Regions from separate parts of the Homo sapiens genome. Here all the other regions are linked to region 2. Evidence: promoter capture Hi-C in human tissues and cell types (Jung and others, 2019). All regions are on one chromosome and are shown on one strand. Each heading gives the region's core, a stretch centred on a gene start or on the middle of the fragment in contact. The rest is flanking DNA. Distances are from core to core; before and after follow the strand shown.

Region 1 (4,381 bases), core at 1,765-4,264, 190 kb after region 2:
TTCTCCTGCCTCAGCTTCCCGAGTAGCTGGGATTACAGGTGCGTGCCACCACACCCAGCTAATTTTCTTTTTTCTTCTTTTTTCTTATTTTTTTATTTTTTTATTTTTTGAGATGGAGTCTCGCTCTGTCGCCCAGGCTGGAGTGCAGTGGCGTGATCTCGACTCACTGCATGCTCCGCCTCCCAGGTTCATCGACATTCTCCTACCTCAGCCTCCCGAGTAGCTGGGACTACAGGCGTCCACCACCACACCCAGCTAATTTTTTTTTGTATTTTTAGTAGAGACGGGGTTTCACCGTGTTGTCCAGGATGGTCTCAATCTCTTGACCTCGTGATCTGCCCGCCTCGGCCTCCCAAAGTACTGGGATTACAGGCGTGAGCCACCGTGCCTGGCCACACCCGGCTAATTTTCATATTTTTAGTAGAGACGGGGTTTTACCATGTTGGCCAGGCTGGTCTCGAACTCCTGACCTCAAATGATCCACCTGCCACAGCCTCCCAAAGTGCTGGGATTACAGGCGTGAGCCACCACGCCCAGCCAGTACATTTGGTTTTTGTTTGTTTTTATGTTTGTTTGTTTGAGACAGGGTCTCATTCTGTCACCCAGGCTAGAGTGCAGTGGTGCAAACACGGCTCACTGCATCCTTAACCTCCCAGGCTTAACCTGTCCTCCTGCCTCAGCCTACCCAGTAGCTGGGACTACAAGCATGTGCCACCATGCCTAGTTAATTTGTAAAATTTTTTGTAGAGATGGAGTTCACTTTGTTGCCCAGGCTGGTCTTGAACTCCTGGGCTCAAGTGATCCTCCTTGCCTCGGTCTCCCAAAGTGCTGGGATTACAGGCATGAGTCACCATGTCCAGCACTCAGTGCATTTGGTTAATGTTTATTAAACAGAATTTAGGGTGGGTCCAAAAGGTCAAGTCAGGTAGAAATAACTTCTCTGCATCATTTTCAACTCATTACAATATTGGAATTAATATGAAGCTCATAAGTATGACTTAAAATTTGTAGGAAGAACAAACCCATGACAGGTAAATCAGTATTATTTGTAAATTTTTTATATTAACCTGCTTTTCTGATATTTAAGAAAATGGGCCTGCTACAGTGGCTTATGCCTATAATCCCAACACTTACTGGGAAGCCAAGGTGGGTGGATTGCTTGAGCCCAGGAGTTTGAGCCAGCCTGGGCAACATGGTGAGACCCCATCTCTACAAAAATACAAAAATTAGCCAGGCATGGTAGTGTGCGCCTGTGGTCCCAGCTACTCAAGAGGCTGAGATGGGTAGATTGATTGAGCCCAGGAGGTCGAGACTGCAGTGAGCTGTGATCGTGCCACTGCACTGTAGCCCGGGCAGCAGAGTGAGACCCTGTCTGAATTTAAAAAAGAGAAAAAAAGAAAATGTTGTTACTTTGGAATGAGCATTATTATGACTCTTCTGAAGAGTGCCAAAATCACTCCAGAGAGTTTCCTTGGGAAAGTCTAAATGATACCAAGTGAAGATATTCTTGTAAATGGTGTTACCTCACAAAAGACTTGTTGCAATTTTATATTAATTTCTTAAATTTTAACATTTGATTAATGATTTATTTTACTCTTGAATTTTTTCAACAGGCTGAAAATACCTCCTGATTGCACTACTGAATTAAATCATCATGCATATTTATTTCTCCAAAGCACCTTTGACAAGCATGATTTGGTAAGCCTTTAGCTGTAATTTTCCATTATATATAGTAAAACATTTTTCTATGGATGATATAACTCTGTTCCCTGAGCTATGGGATGTGTATGTTACATAGCCAAAAACTGCTTAACCTCTCTAAGTTAAATTCGCAAAAATATTTTCTGCTGTTTACCTTTGTTGTTTTCTCAAGATGAAAATGTCTAATTTCTAATAGACTCTCTTATAGGTTTTCTTACATACATTTGAGGAATTTTCTTGATAAAATGTAAAATTTGTTGTCATTTATTAAGTAGTTTTAAAAAGCATAGCTTTACTAGATTGGGGGGCTTTTGAGTTGGGAATTATTATCTTAGATATCTAAACATTCTGTATCCTTGTGTTTCTTCAGGATAGAGACTGTGCTTTGTCACCTGATGAGCTTAAAGATTTATTTAAAGTTTTCCCTTACATACCTTGGGGGCCAGATGTGAATAACACAGTTTGTACCAATGAAAGAGGCTGGATAACCTACCAGGGATTCCTTTCCCAGTGGACGTGAGTATAGAGCTCACCTCTTTCCTCTAGAGTTACAAATAGTTTAAAATTATGGTGTATTACATTTGTCACTTTGTAAGCTTGTGAGGCATTATGAAATTCTTCAATCATAATTGCCTCTAAGCAAGATTAGCTGCTGATATCTCTAAGATGAACTATAAATGTTCTATAAATTTATCAGGAAGGGATTGTTTTCTTTTGAATGATATATAGGGAAAAAGTAGTAAGTCTTTGAAAATTGAACTACATTTTAGCACTTTTTTGTTTGATTAAGGGAATTGGAAATGTCATTGCTGTTGCACAATTCTTACTCTTTCAGAATATGGGGTGAAGCATATTTTACTTGACACTGAAGATTCTGTTTTTTTGTTATTGTTTGTTTTTAATGAACTCTTTTTTTTTTTTTTTTTGAGATGGAGTCTCACTCTGTTGCCCAGGCTGGAGTGTAGTGGCGTGATCTTGGCTCACTGCAACTCTGCCTCCTGGGTTCAAGCCATTCTCCTGCCTCAGCCATGAGGTTCTTTCACTCAGCACATTGTGGACATTTTTCTGTATCAATAAGTATACTTTTATATATCTTAATGTTAAATAATGTGTCACAATATGGATGTCCTATAACTTATTTAACTATCCCATAATTATATATTTTTATCATTTTTGGGTTTTTTTCTACTATCACTAGTATTCTGGTGAGGTCTGTTGTAGTTCAGTCTTCAGGTATAGCCTAAGGAGGTTGTTTTTTTTGGTTTGTTTTTAACTTGGAAGGTAGATCGCATAAAATATCCCCACTCTATCTAGATTTTACCAGCCACTCACCGCTTATGTTTGTAAGCTTAGTGTTTCTGGACAGATGGAGTAGAGAGAGGAATTACCCACCATCTTGCATTCTTCTCCCTTTCTTCTCTGCATTAAGAATGGCAGTGTAGGGCCAGGCAGCGTGGCTCATACCTATAATCCTAGCACTTTGGGAGGCCAAGGTGGATGGATCACTTGAGCTCAGGAGTTCAAGACCAGCCTAAGCAACATGGCGAAACCCTGTCTCTACTAAAAAATTTTTTTAAATTAAAAAAAAAATTAGCCAGGCTTGGGGGCACATGCCTGTAGTCCCAGATACTTGGGGAGCTGATGCAGGAAGATCACTTGCACCCAGGGGTTCAAGGCTACAGTGAGCCATGTTTGTGCCATTGCACTCTAGCGTGGATGACAAAGTAAGGCCCTATCTTTCAAAAAAAAAAAAAAGAATGGCAGTGTAAGAAAAACTATGGTTGGGCTCATAGGAAATTAAAGTAGTCTAGACAAAAATTATCTAGGTCTGGTGCATAAAGTTTTTTTAGCTATTGGCTTTTTTTTCCCCATAAATATTCGTTTAGGAACTTTTCACATTTTAAACTCTTTTCTTTCATAGGCTCACGACTTATTTAGATGTACAGCGGTGCCTGGAATATTTGGGCTATCTAGGCTATTCAATATTGACTGAGCAAGAGTCTCAAGCTTCAGCTGTTACAGGTAAGTATCTAGATACTGTTCAGCTCATGATTAGAGATATTTTTTAAGACTCCATTTTCAAATGTAACAAAGAGTAAGAATACACTCATCTTCATTAGTCTTCCATCTACACTCTATTAGTTTTCCTTGTGATCAGATCATTTCTTTTGTGTTGAGGTGCTTGATTTTATTGTTTATGAAAAGAAAGAAAGTAGAGACTTTGCTTCAAGTCTACTCCCTGGGGTTACTCCACTGATGAAAATGAGGAAGAGCTGTGGGCATTAAAGGATTTACCAGTTGATCTTGCGTTTTAATTTTCTTTAAACATTAAAAATAATGCGTATTAACTGTTTTCTGTATTAATACAGCTTTCACAAATCTTGTAAGCCAGGCATTCTTGCCAAGCAATGTGCACCACTTAAAGTAAACCATATGTATGGAAATAGCAAGTTAAGGAACTGATCATTTCAAGAGTTTCTTATATCCCTGTTGGTGGAAAATCTGCCATATCTTATGGGAAGCCCTAGCACAAGAAGACAGCCTTTCTTAAATTGACAGAGCAGGTACCCTTTAAAATACTTAACCAATTAGACAGTATTTAATTCAACACCAGAGAATAAGAAAACAGTCACTAGCCAGCCATGAGGTTCTTTCACTCAGCACATTGTGGACATTTTTC
Region 2 (4,419 bases), core at 1,785-4,284:
ATTAATGTCTAGGACTAGATGTAGAGGAACACACATAATGGTATTTCTGTTCCCACTCAAAAGCAATTCAAGAGTATGTGTGAGGCAATTGATGACAGTGAGTCTGATTTTCCTGTTTCCTCAATGGCAAACTGAGGGAACTGAAAAAACTGGGCTTTTGGAGAGATCTGGCTTTAAATAGGCTAATGTGCTTAGAAGATATGTGGACATGGACAAAACACAACCTCTCTGAGTCTCTAAGACATTTTATTTATCTCACTTGTAAAATGAGGATATAATAAAACCTGCCTGTGTGCCACTATAAGACTTAAAAGTATAATGATGAGGCATCTACCATAGTGCCTGGGCACATTAGTGATCAATAAATGTTAAATATTATTGTTAAGGTAGTAAATGAATAAAAATTCAGCAGCATTACAGGAATGAGTCACTCAGTAATTCTGAAGAAAGAAGGGCTATATTAAATCATAGATAAAAGGATACTGGTGGAGTACCCTTATTCTGAAAATCTGAAATCCAAAATGCTCCAAGGTCCAAAAGTTTTTGAGTGTCAACATGCTGTTCAAAGGAAATGCTCATTAGAGCATTTCAGATTTTCAGATTAGAAATGATCAACTGGTAAGTAGAATGCAAATATTCCAAAAATGCCCAAAACACTTCTGATCCAAAGCATTTTAGGTAAGGATGCTCAACCTATACAGTATTCACTGACTTAACATTTTTCTTCTTGAAGCCACAGAAAGATAAATTCATTAAAGCATAAAGGAGCAAAACAGCAAATACCTGCTAATCCATTCAAAGAAGAGTTGGGTTTTTTTGGTCTATTTTGTTTAACTTTTCTCTTTTTTTTGGTGGGGGGGAGGGGGTGGTGAAGGAGTCTCGCTCTGTTGCCCAGGCTGGAGTGCAGTGGCATGGTCTCCGCTCACCACAACCTCCGCCTTCCAGGTTCAAGCGATTCTCCTGCCTCAGCCTCCTGAGTAGCTAGGACTATGGGCACATGCCACCATGCCCGGCTAATTTTTGTGTTTTAAGTAGAGATGGGGTTTCACTATGTTGGCCAGGCTAACCTCGAACTTCTGGGCTCAAGTGATCCACCCACCTGGCTTCCTAAAGTGCTGGGATTACAGGTCTGAGCCACCACACCTGGCCACCCTCTTCAAACAAAATATGAGCATTTCCATTGGCCTAGGTCTTCACCTTGTCTACTTTATTGACTTACATTACTTACCTAGTCCCTGAAGACATAACACACATTTGCCACCCTTAGAGCTCAACCAAACTGTATTGAATGCATGTATTTGGCAATTAGTGCTTGTATTTTAATTTTCATTTCACATATGTGTTCCATTTTCCTAACTAGATTGAAATAAGCCATCTCCTATTAGGTATTTTTCTTTCTTTTTTAAAAATTTTGAGACAGGGTCTTGCTCTGTCACTCAGGCTGGAGTGCAGAGGTGCAATCATGGCTCAGTGCAACATCCACCTCCCAGGCTCAAGCGATCCTGCCCCCTCACCCTCTGGCGTAGCTGGGACCACAGGTGCGCACCACCATGCCCGGCTAATTTTTCAATTTTTTTCTAGAGACGAGGTCCTGCTATGTTGCCCAGGCTAGTCTCAAACTCTTGACCTCAAGCAATCGTCCGGCTTTGGCTTCTCAAAGGGCTGGGATTGCAGGCATGAGCTATCGCGCCCGGCCAAGTATTTTTGTTTAAATTACTTTTTGGTTGTCACTTATCTCAATAAATATTAACATATGTTTACGAAACCTTTCTTTTTCTTTTTTTTTTTTTTTTTTTTTTTTTTTTTTTGAGACGGAGTCTCGCTCTGTCTCCCAGGCTGGAGTGCAGTGGCGCGATCTCGGTTCACTGCAACCTCCGCCTCCCGGATTTTACGCCATTCTCCTGCCTCAGCCTCCCGAGTAGCTGGGACTACAGGCGTGCACCACCTACGCCCGGCTAATTTTTTTTGTATTTTTAGTAGAGATGGGGTTTCACTGTGCTAGCCAGGATGGTCTCGAACTCCTGACCTTGTGATCCGCCCGCCTCGGCCTCCCAAAGTGCTGGGATTACAGGCGTCAGCCACTGTGCCCGGCAAACCTTTCTCTTATCTGAAGAACTGACCTCAACCACTCAGGGTTGAGTCCCTGTGATAAGGTTTGAGGGTGCCTGAACTGTCACCATGATTCGTCCCCTGGGCTGAGCTCAAACCTAGTGATTTGTCAGGTAAATAAATTAAGGTTATTTCCCGATAATACAGACCTGTAACACCGTGAAGTAGGTTTTAGGCAGGATTCCCTCTTTTCCACTGCAAAGGAGAGGTAAGTTCTTGCTAAGGTGGTCAGGCTCCTAGCTGGGACACTGGGAAGGTGGCGGGAGATTGGAACATGCAGTAGTTGCATTCTGGAGTTTACTGAGGCTTTCCGAGTGGGGATCCCATGCAACAGGTCTTAGGGACCCCCCTCCCTCCAGGCGTGGCAGCCCGGGGTGTGGCTCCTGGCACAGATCCGGAGCAGTTGTCATCGGAGTCAATTCAGGACTCCACTTCCAAGCTTCGGAGTTTCCTAAATTCTGGGGGCTTGTCTCCCTGTACCCCACCCCGACTAATTTTCCTCGGTCGCTGGCGCTGCCCCGTCCCTTAGGTCGCTCGGGCCGCCCCCCTCCGCGACTTTTTTTTTCTTTCTCTCGCTGCCTCTTTCAGCCTCAGTTTCCCTAGAGGGCGGGAGGGGAACGATATTTGGGGGCTCTCCTGCCTTCCTCTCCGAGCCGCGGAAGGGGAGTCGCGGGAAGGAGACCCGGCAGGCTTTGGGCTCCAGCCAGGGGTCCGCGGAGACTGTGGTCTCCGAAGGCCTTAGACGCGGGGCTTGTCAGGAGCTGCGGGCCTCTTTCAGCCGCGCCACCCGCACCCGGAGCGCCGTGCTGCGCCAAGTCCAGGCGCCCCGAGCTCTCCGCCCCCGACTCAATGCTCCCGCGCTCCCCCTAGCGGCCGCCGCGCCACCTCGCCCCCTTCCCAGGCTGGGCGGCGGCGCACCTCACGTGACCGCGCTCCTGTAGAGGGAAGAAACAAGGTGGCGGTTGAAGGCGATCTTGAGTGGGGCCCCAGCAATTCGGTTGAGCCTTCTCCCTCCACTCGCTTCCGCCGGCCGGGCCCCTCCCGCCCAGCCCCTCGGGCCTCCCAACCCGGCCCCGGCGCTCCCCACCGCCGCCACTGCGCCCGGCCCTCCCCGTCAGCTTTCCCTTCTCCCGCCGCCTGGGCTCCAACAAGAGGGGCCGGCGGGGCAGGCCGACCAAGCAGCCCGCGGCTCCCGCTGCGGAGCGCTGCGCCCCGGCCCCGCCGCCGCCGCCGCCCACGTCCGGACCCATCGGGGGCTCCCCTCGCCGATACGCGGTAGTAGCCGGGGCAGGTGGGCAGCCGCCAGGCTGAGGTGGCGCCCAAGACGCGGCTGAGCTCGCCCAGGGTGGGCAGCAGTAGCCGGAGGAAGCCACCGCCGCCGGCCCGCCCCGCGCCGGCACCAGCGCACGGGCCCGGCGGGGGCGCGGGGGCAGCCACCTAGCCCGGACCACCGCAGCCCGGAGGGCTGTCAACAGAGTGGTGTATGATGACTACGAGAGCGAGGAGGAGGAGTAAGAGGAGGGGGGCGGCGATGCCGAGGAGACCCAGGAGTCTGAGGACAACTAGGAGGATGACATGGAGGAGGACGACGATGACTCCGATTATCCGGAGGAGCTGGAAGATGACGACGAGGACGCCAGTTACTCCACGGAAAGCAGCTTCAGCAGCACTCCAGGTACCCACCCAGCGCAGTTGCTGCAGACTCATTCCCCACCTCCTCTCCCCTCCCCCCTTGCTCACTTATGTGCTGTGCATCCCGCTCCGATCTCCCGCCAACCCCGCCGACCCCTAAACTTTAGAGGGGAAATGGGAGGGCACATCAAGTGGCAAAAAACTAGATTTATAAGAGGAAAGAAGCACATTGTTCAAAATGGAGATTGCATTGTTGCAGGCCGCACTCGCTTGCTCCCCGTCCCCCCAACTCCCTTTTTTTCTCCTCAAAATTTGTGCCAGTGCAGTGTCTCCACCGGGCAGGATTGAAACTTTGGCAAACACATATCCATTGCATTCATTTTTCTCCCCTTGTTTTGGTGTGGTTTTCTGGAATGAAAGAAGCCTCTTGTTTTGCAAACCTCTTTGCATTTCTAATGTGTTTCCTTTCGGATTTTCATTATATATCTGTTCCTTAAAAGGGAATTAAGGATTTGTACAGATTGTGGCACACAGACACACAGAAAAACATGCCTGTGTTCACACCCCTAGCTGTGGTTTTTAAATTGTGTTAAGGAAACGGATCATTTTGGTTAGTAGGGGAACTTTACCTGGTCCTGTGTGTTTGTTTTTATTCTTCGAGTGCTGACGGGCTAGTGC
Region 3 (4,312 bases), core at 1,107-3,606, 140 kb before region 2:
GTATGGTAAAACAATGACATATCACATTTCACCTATAAAATGGTAAAAATAAAAGATATAATTACACCAGTACAGGTAAGGGTACTGACACTTTCATGTATTGCTTGAAAGAAGGAGCAAACCAGCAATACATATCAGTATTCTCTAAAAGCAGTATCCTTTGATCCAGTAATTCCACTGTCGGATGTCAATCTCCTAAGGAAATGGCCAGGGATGTGAACAAAGATTGACAAGAATCTTCATCAACAGCATTTATCTAATTTTTAAAAAAATTAGAAATGACAGTCCAGGCCAGGCTTAGTGGTTCACGCCTGTAATCCCAACACTTTGGGAGGCCAAGGCGGGTGGATCATGAGGTCAGGAGTTCGCAACCAGCCTGGCCAATATGATGAAACCCCCGCACTACTAAAAATACAAAAATTGGCTGGGCGCGGTGGCGGGTGCCTGTAATCCCACCCAGCTGCTCGGGAGGCTGAGCCAGAACCACTTGAACCCGGGAGGTGGAGGTTGCAGTGAGCCGAGATGGAGCCACTGCACTCCAGCCTGGATGACAGAGCAAGGCTCCATCTCAAAAAAAAAAAGACAGTCTAACCAGAGGATTAGTAAAATATATTATGGCTCATTTTTACAATGTAATGTTACGAATTCATTAAATGTTTTTAAGGCTATTTAATGACACAGAAAAACAATACTAAGTGAAACGTAACAATAAGCTACACTGAAAGCTTCTCCCAGTGACAGGATGCTTTTTTTTACCACACTATTCTATTTCCTCCATATTTTCCAGAACAAATGCATACCACGTATCTTTTATAATGAGAATAAACCAACAAAACTGTACTTTCTCCTTTTTTTTTTTCCTTGAGAAGGAGTTTCGCTCTTCTTACCCAGGATGGAGTAGCAATGGCATGATCTCGGCTCACTGCAACCTCCGTCTCCCAGGTTCAAGCAATTCTCCTGCCTCAGCCTCCCAAGCAGCTGGGATTACAGGCACCCACCACCACACCTGGCTAATTTTTGTATTTTTAGTAGAGACGGGGTTTCACCATGTTGGCCAGGCTAGTCTCAAACTCCTGACCTCAGGTGATCCGCCTGCCTCAGCCTTCCCAAAGTGCTGGGATTACAGGCGTTGAGTCACCATGCCTGGCCACTTTCTCCTTCATTTTAACTGGCTCTTAGGTCGAGATTAGAGATACTCATGCTTGACCTGGGATAATTTTAAAAAAACCCAGTCGTATGCTATCCATGTATTTTGGGAAACATTTAGGACCTGTGGAAGATCGGGCCTCAACATTAAATCAGCAATTCTCTTTACTGGAATCAGATTAGCACATCAAACTGAGCAGTGTCATGCACCTATAATCCCAGCTACTCAGGAGTCTGAGGTGAGAAGGTCACTTGAGTCCAGGAGTTCAAGACCAGCCAGGGCAACAGAGCAAGACCCAGTCTCAATCATAAAAATTTTTTAATTTTTAAAAAGATTTAACAAGTTAACATAAAATTAAAGTGTGTCTCAAAACCAGACAGCCATCTTGTCTGCCATCACTGAGCAAATTACAGATGGACTCAATACAAATTTGCCCACGGGGCTTGCTTGCAATACTATTTCACAAAGCTGACTGTATTCTTCATCTTCATAAATGGCCAGTCTGATGCATAGCATGTTTAGCTACAAATGCCTCTGCTGACTCTCCCTGCAACATTTTCATCGCTCGCCAGTAGATCTGTCCACAGTTCTCAGGTCTACCAAGGGGGTGGTTCAATTCTTCTTTCATATAATCCATCCAAAGATCTTTTAAAAAAAAAACATACAATTAGATAACTGACAGAGTGTTATTAGGTAACCTTATTAAATATCAATTCAACTCAAGATTTCTAAGAAACTTAACTTCTCATTGTTACTTCCCTAGGACGCTTTGTTTAACAATACCTCTCTTAGCTTCTTTAAAGTATAGTGGCAGGTTTTGGTTTGTTTTTGTGTGTTTTTTTCTTTTTTGAGACAGGGTCTCACTGTGTTGCCCCGGCTAGAGTGTAGTAGCGGGAACATGGCTTACTACAGTCTCAACCTCCTGAGTTCAAGTGACCCTCCTGCCTCAGCCTCCAGGGCAGCTGGGAACACAGGCACACCACCATATTAGGCTAATTTTTTTATTTTTTGTAGAAACAGGGTTTCACTATATTGCCCAGGCTAGTCTTGAACTCCTGGGCTCAAGCAATCCTTCTACCTTGGCCTTCCAAAGTGCTGGGATTACAGGCGTGAGCCACTGTGCCTCATCAGTTTTGTTTTTTTGTTTTTTGTTTTTTTTCCCAGTAGAAAACCTTCACATCAATCATAAAAGTCTATTTTATTCAATGAACTCAAAAATACTAAACTTTTTGGCTAGGCACAGTGGTTCACACCTGTAATCCCGGCACTTTGGGAGGCCAAGGCGGGCGGATCACCTGAGGTCAAGAGTTCAAGACCAGCCTAGCCAGCATGGCGAAACTCCATCTCGACTGAAAATACAAAAATTAGCCGAGCATGGTGGCACGCGTGCCTGTACTCCCAGCTACTTGGGAGGCTGAGGCACGAGAATCGCTTGAATCTGGGAGGCAGAGATTGCAGTGAGGCAAGATTGCGCCACTGCACTCCAGCCTGGGTGACAGAGTGAGACTCTGTCTCAAAACAAAATAAAAATAAACAAATCAATGTTTATGAGTTCACAAAGTCCACAGATTTTACATGACATACCTATACCCAGAAGTATGTTGTACAAGTCCTACAAATGAGGGCAATGTGGAGATAGTCAACAACAGACGCCAATTAGCATCTCACGTTTACCCCTTTCATGTAACTCTAAATACATTTTTTTTAAGAAAACAAAACCATGCAAATCTTTCTCTAATCCAGAGGGGGTGTTTTTGGTTTTTGTTTTTGAGACAGGATCTCATTGTATTGCCCAGGCTGGAGTACAATGGTGGCATCACAGTCATTGCAGCCTCAACATCCTGGGGCCCAAACAATCCTCGCACCTCAGCCTGCTGTGTAGCTGGGACCACAAGCATGCACCACCATACCCAGTTACTTTTTTTTTTTTATTGTTTGTAGAGATGGGGATCTAAATATGTTGCCCAGGCTGGTCTCAGGCTCCTGAGAAATCTAGGGTTCTTAACAGACGACCCATGGACCCCTGAACTTATGATCCTGAAATGATAGTATACACAAAGCAAGTGAGGAGGCAGAGGAAGGAAACAAGTTTTATTTTAAAAGAGGGTTATGATGCAAATCAAAAAACTAAGAAACAGTTTTGTTTGTTTGTTTGTTTGTTTTTGAGACGGAGTTTCACTGTTGTTGCCCAGGCTGGAGTGCAATGGTATAATCTCAGCTCACTGCAACCTCCGTCTCCCAGGCTCAAGCGATTCTCCTGCCTCAGCCTCCCAGGCAGGGATTACAGGTGCGCACCACCATGTCCAGCTAATTTTTATTTTAGTAGAGACGGGGTTTCACCATATTGGCCAGGCTGGTCTCGAACTCCTGACCTCAGGTGATCCGCCTGCCTTGGCCTCCCAAAGTGCTGGGATTACAGGCATGAGCCACTGTACTCAGCCAAGAAACACTGTTCTAACCATACTAATTGGTCACAAATTAAGGGTTTACTTACCAGAATCTGCGGATCCAAACTCTCTCAAAGCTCTCTCATAATATTCTCTTATGTTCGCCATATTGCAGGATTCCTGACAAAGATAGACAATCTTGTCTCAAAAGCCTGATTTATAACATAACAAATTCATTCCAACCATATTGTTAAGCAGCTACTGTCTGTCAGGTATTTGAAGGGAAGAGTTTAACATGAACACAACTTGGCTCTCAACTTTTCTAGGAAAAAAATCAAAGCCACTCAACAGAGTGAAGTACATATGTGAAACATAAAAGCACTTTGCTGTAGTAGCATGGAGAAAAGTGCTATTAGAAAAAAGTGGGGGACATGGGCAGCTTCACAGAAAACAGTATTTGAAAGTCTTGAGGAATGAGTGGGAATTAAATAAAGAAACAGCGAAGGTTCTATTCGCTTTGAGTAAGGATTTCTTCCTTTTGAATATCTGGGCTCTGGTACTTATTTGTTATATCCACCTTAAAATAAATACTAGTTATATGACCTTCAGCAAGTTTTTGAACCCTTTGACCTTAAACATTTCCTCACCTATAAAACAAGCTTTAATATCTCTTAGCACAACTATAAGTATTAGATTAAAATGCTGATGAATTATGTACCTAGCAGAATAGCTGTAACTAACTTTACAACCAAAAACTGCTCATTCTCCACCTATTTTT

What was found. The method cuts DNA at HindIII sites, captures the fragments that hold promoters and counts their contacts. A contact is called where the count stands out against the background at its distance.
Region 1: a contact is called between a fragment that was not itself captured here and the fragment with the promoter of LRRC37B in region 2, in 3 of the 25 tissues and cell types used here (dorsolateral prefrontal cortex, lymphoblastoid cells and spleen).
Region 3: a fragment that was not itself captured here is called in contact with the fragment with the promoter of LRRC37B in region 2 in 1 of the 25 tissues and cell types used here (lymphoblastoid cells).

Annotation. Positions count from the first base shown.
Region 1 is chr17:32,197,334-32,201,714 of GRCh38, forward strand. RHOT1 (ras homolog family member T1) reads left to right here. Exons shown (of 20, transcript NM_001033566.3): 12 at 1,614-1,698; 13 at 2,072-2,217; 14 at 3,623-3,723. Among named protein-coding and RNA genes, the nearest start is that of RHOT1, 57 kb to the left of the region's middle. The HindIII fragment of the contact is 4,562 bases long and covers 734-4,381 here.
Region 2 is chr17:32,004,349-32,008,767 of GRCh38, forward strand. LRRC37B (leucine rich repeat containing 37B) reads left to right here and starts at 3,035. Exons shown (of 15, transcript NM_001321350.2): 1 at 3,035-3,784. LOC124903972 reads right to left here and starts at 3,359. Exons shown (of 4, transcript XM_047437248.1): 1 at 3,028-3,359; 2 at 2,259-2,357. The coding sequence starts at 3,359. RefSeq lists an enhancer at 2,036-2,958 and silencers at 3,001-3,050, 3,091-3,440. The HindIII fragment of the contact is 11,687 bases long and covers 805-4,419 here.
Region 3 is chr17:31,861,725-31,866,036 of GRCh38, forward strand. It overlaps UTP6 (UTP6 small subunit processome component), which reads right to left. Exons shown (of 19, transcript NM_018428.3): 18 at 3,642-3,714; 19 at 1-1,792. The coding sequence ends at 1,635. Among named protein-coding and RNA genes, the nearest start is that of COPRS, 4.6 kb to the left of the region's middle. The HindIII fragment of the contact is 4,843 bases long and covers 1-4,312 here.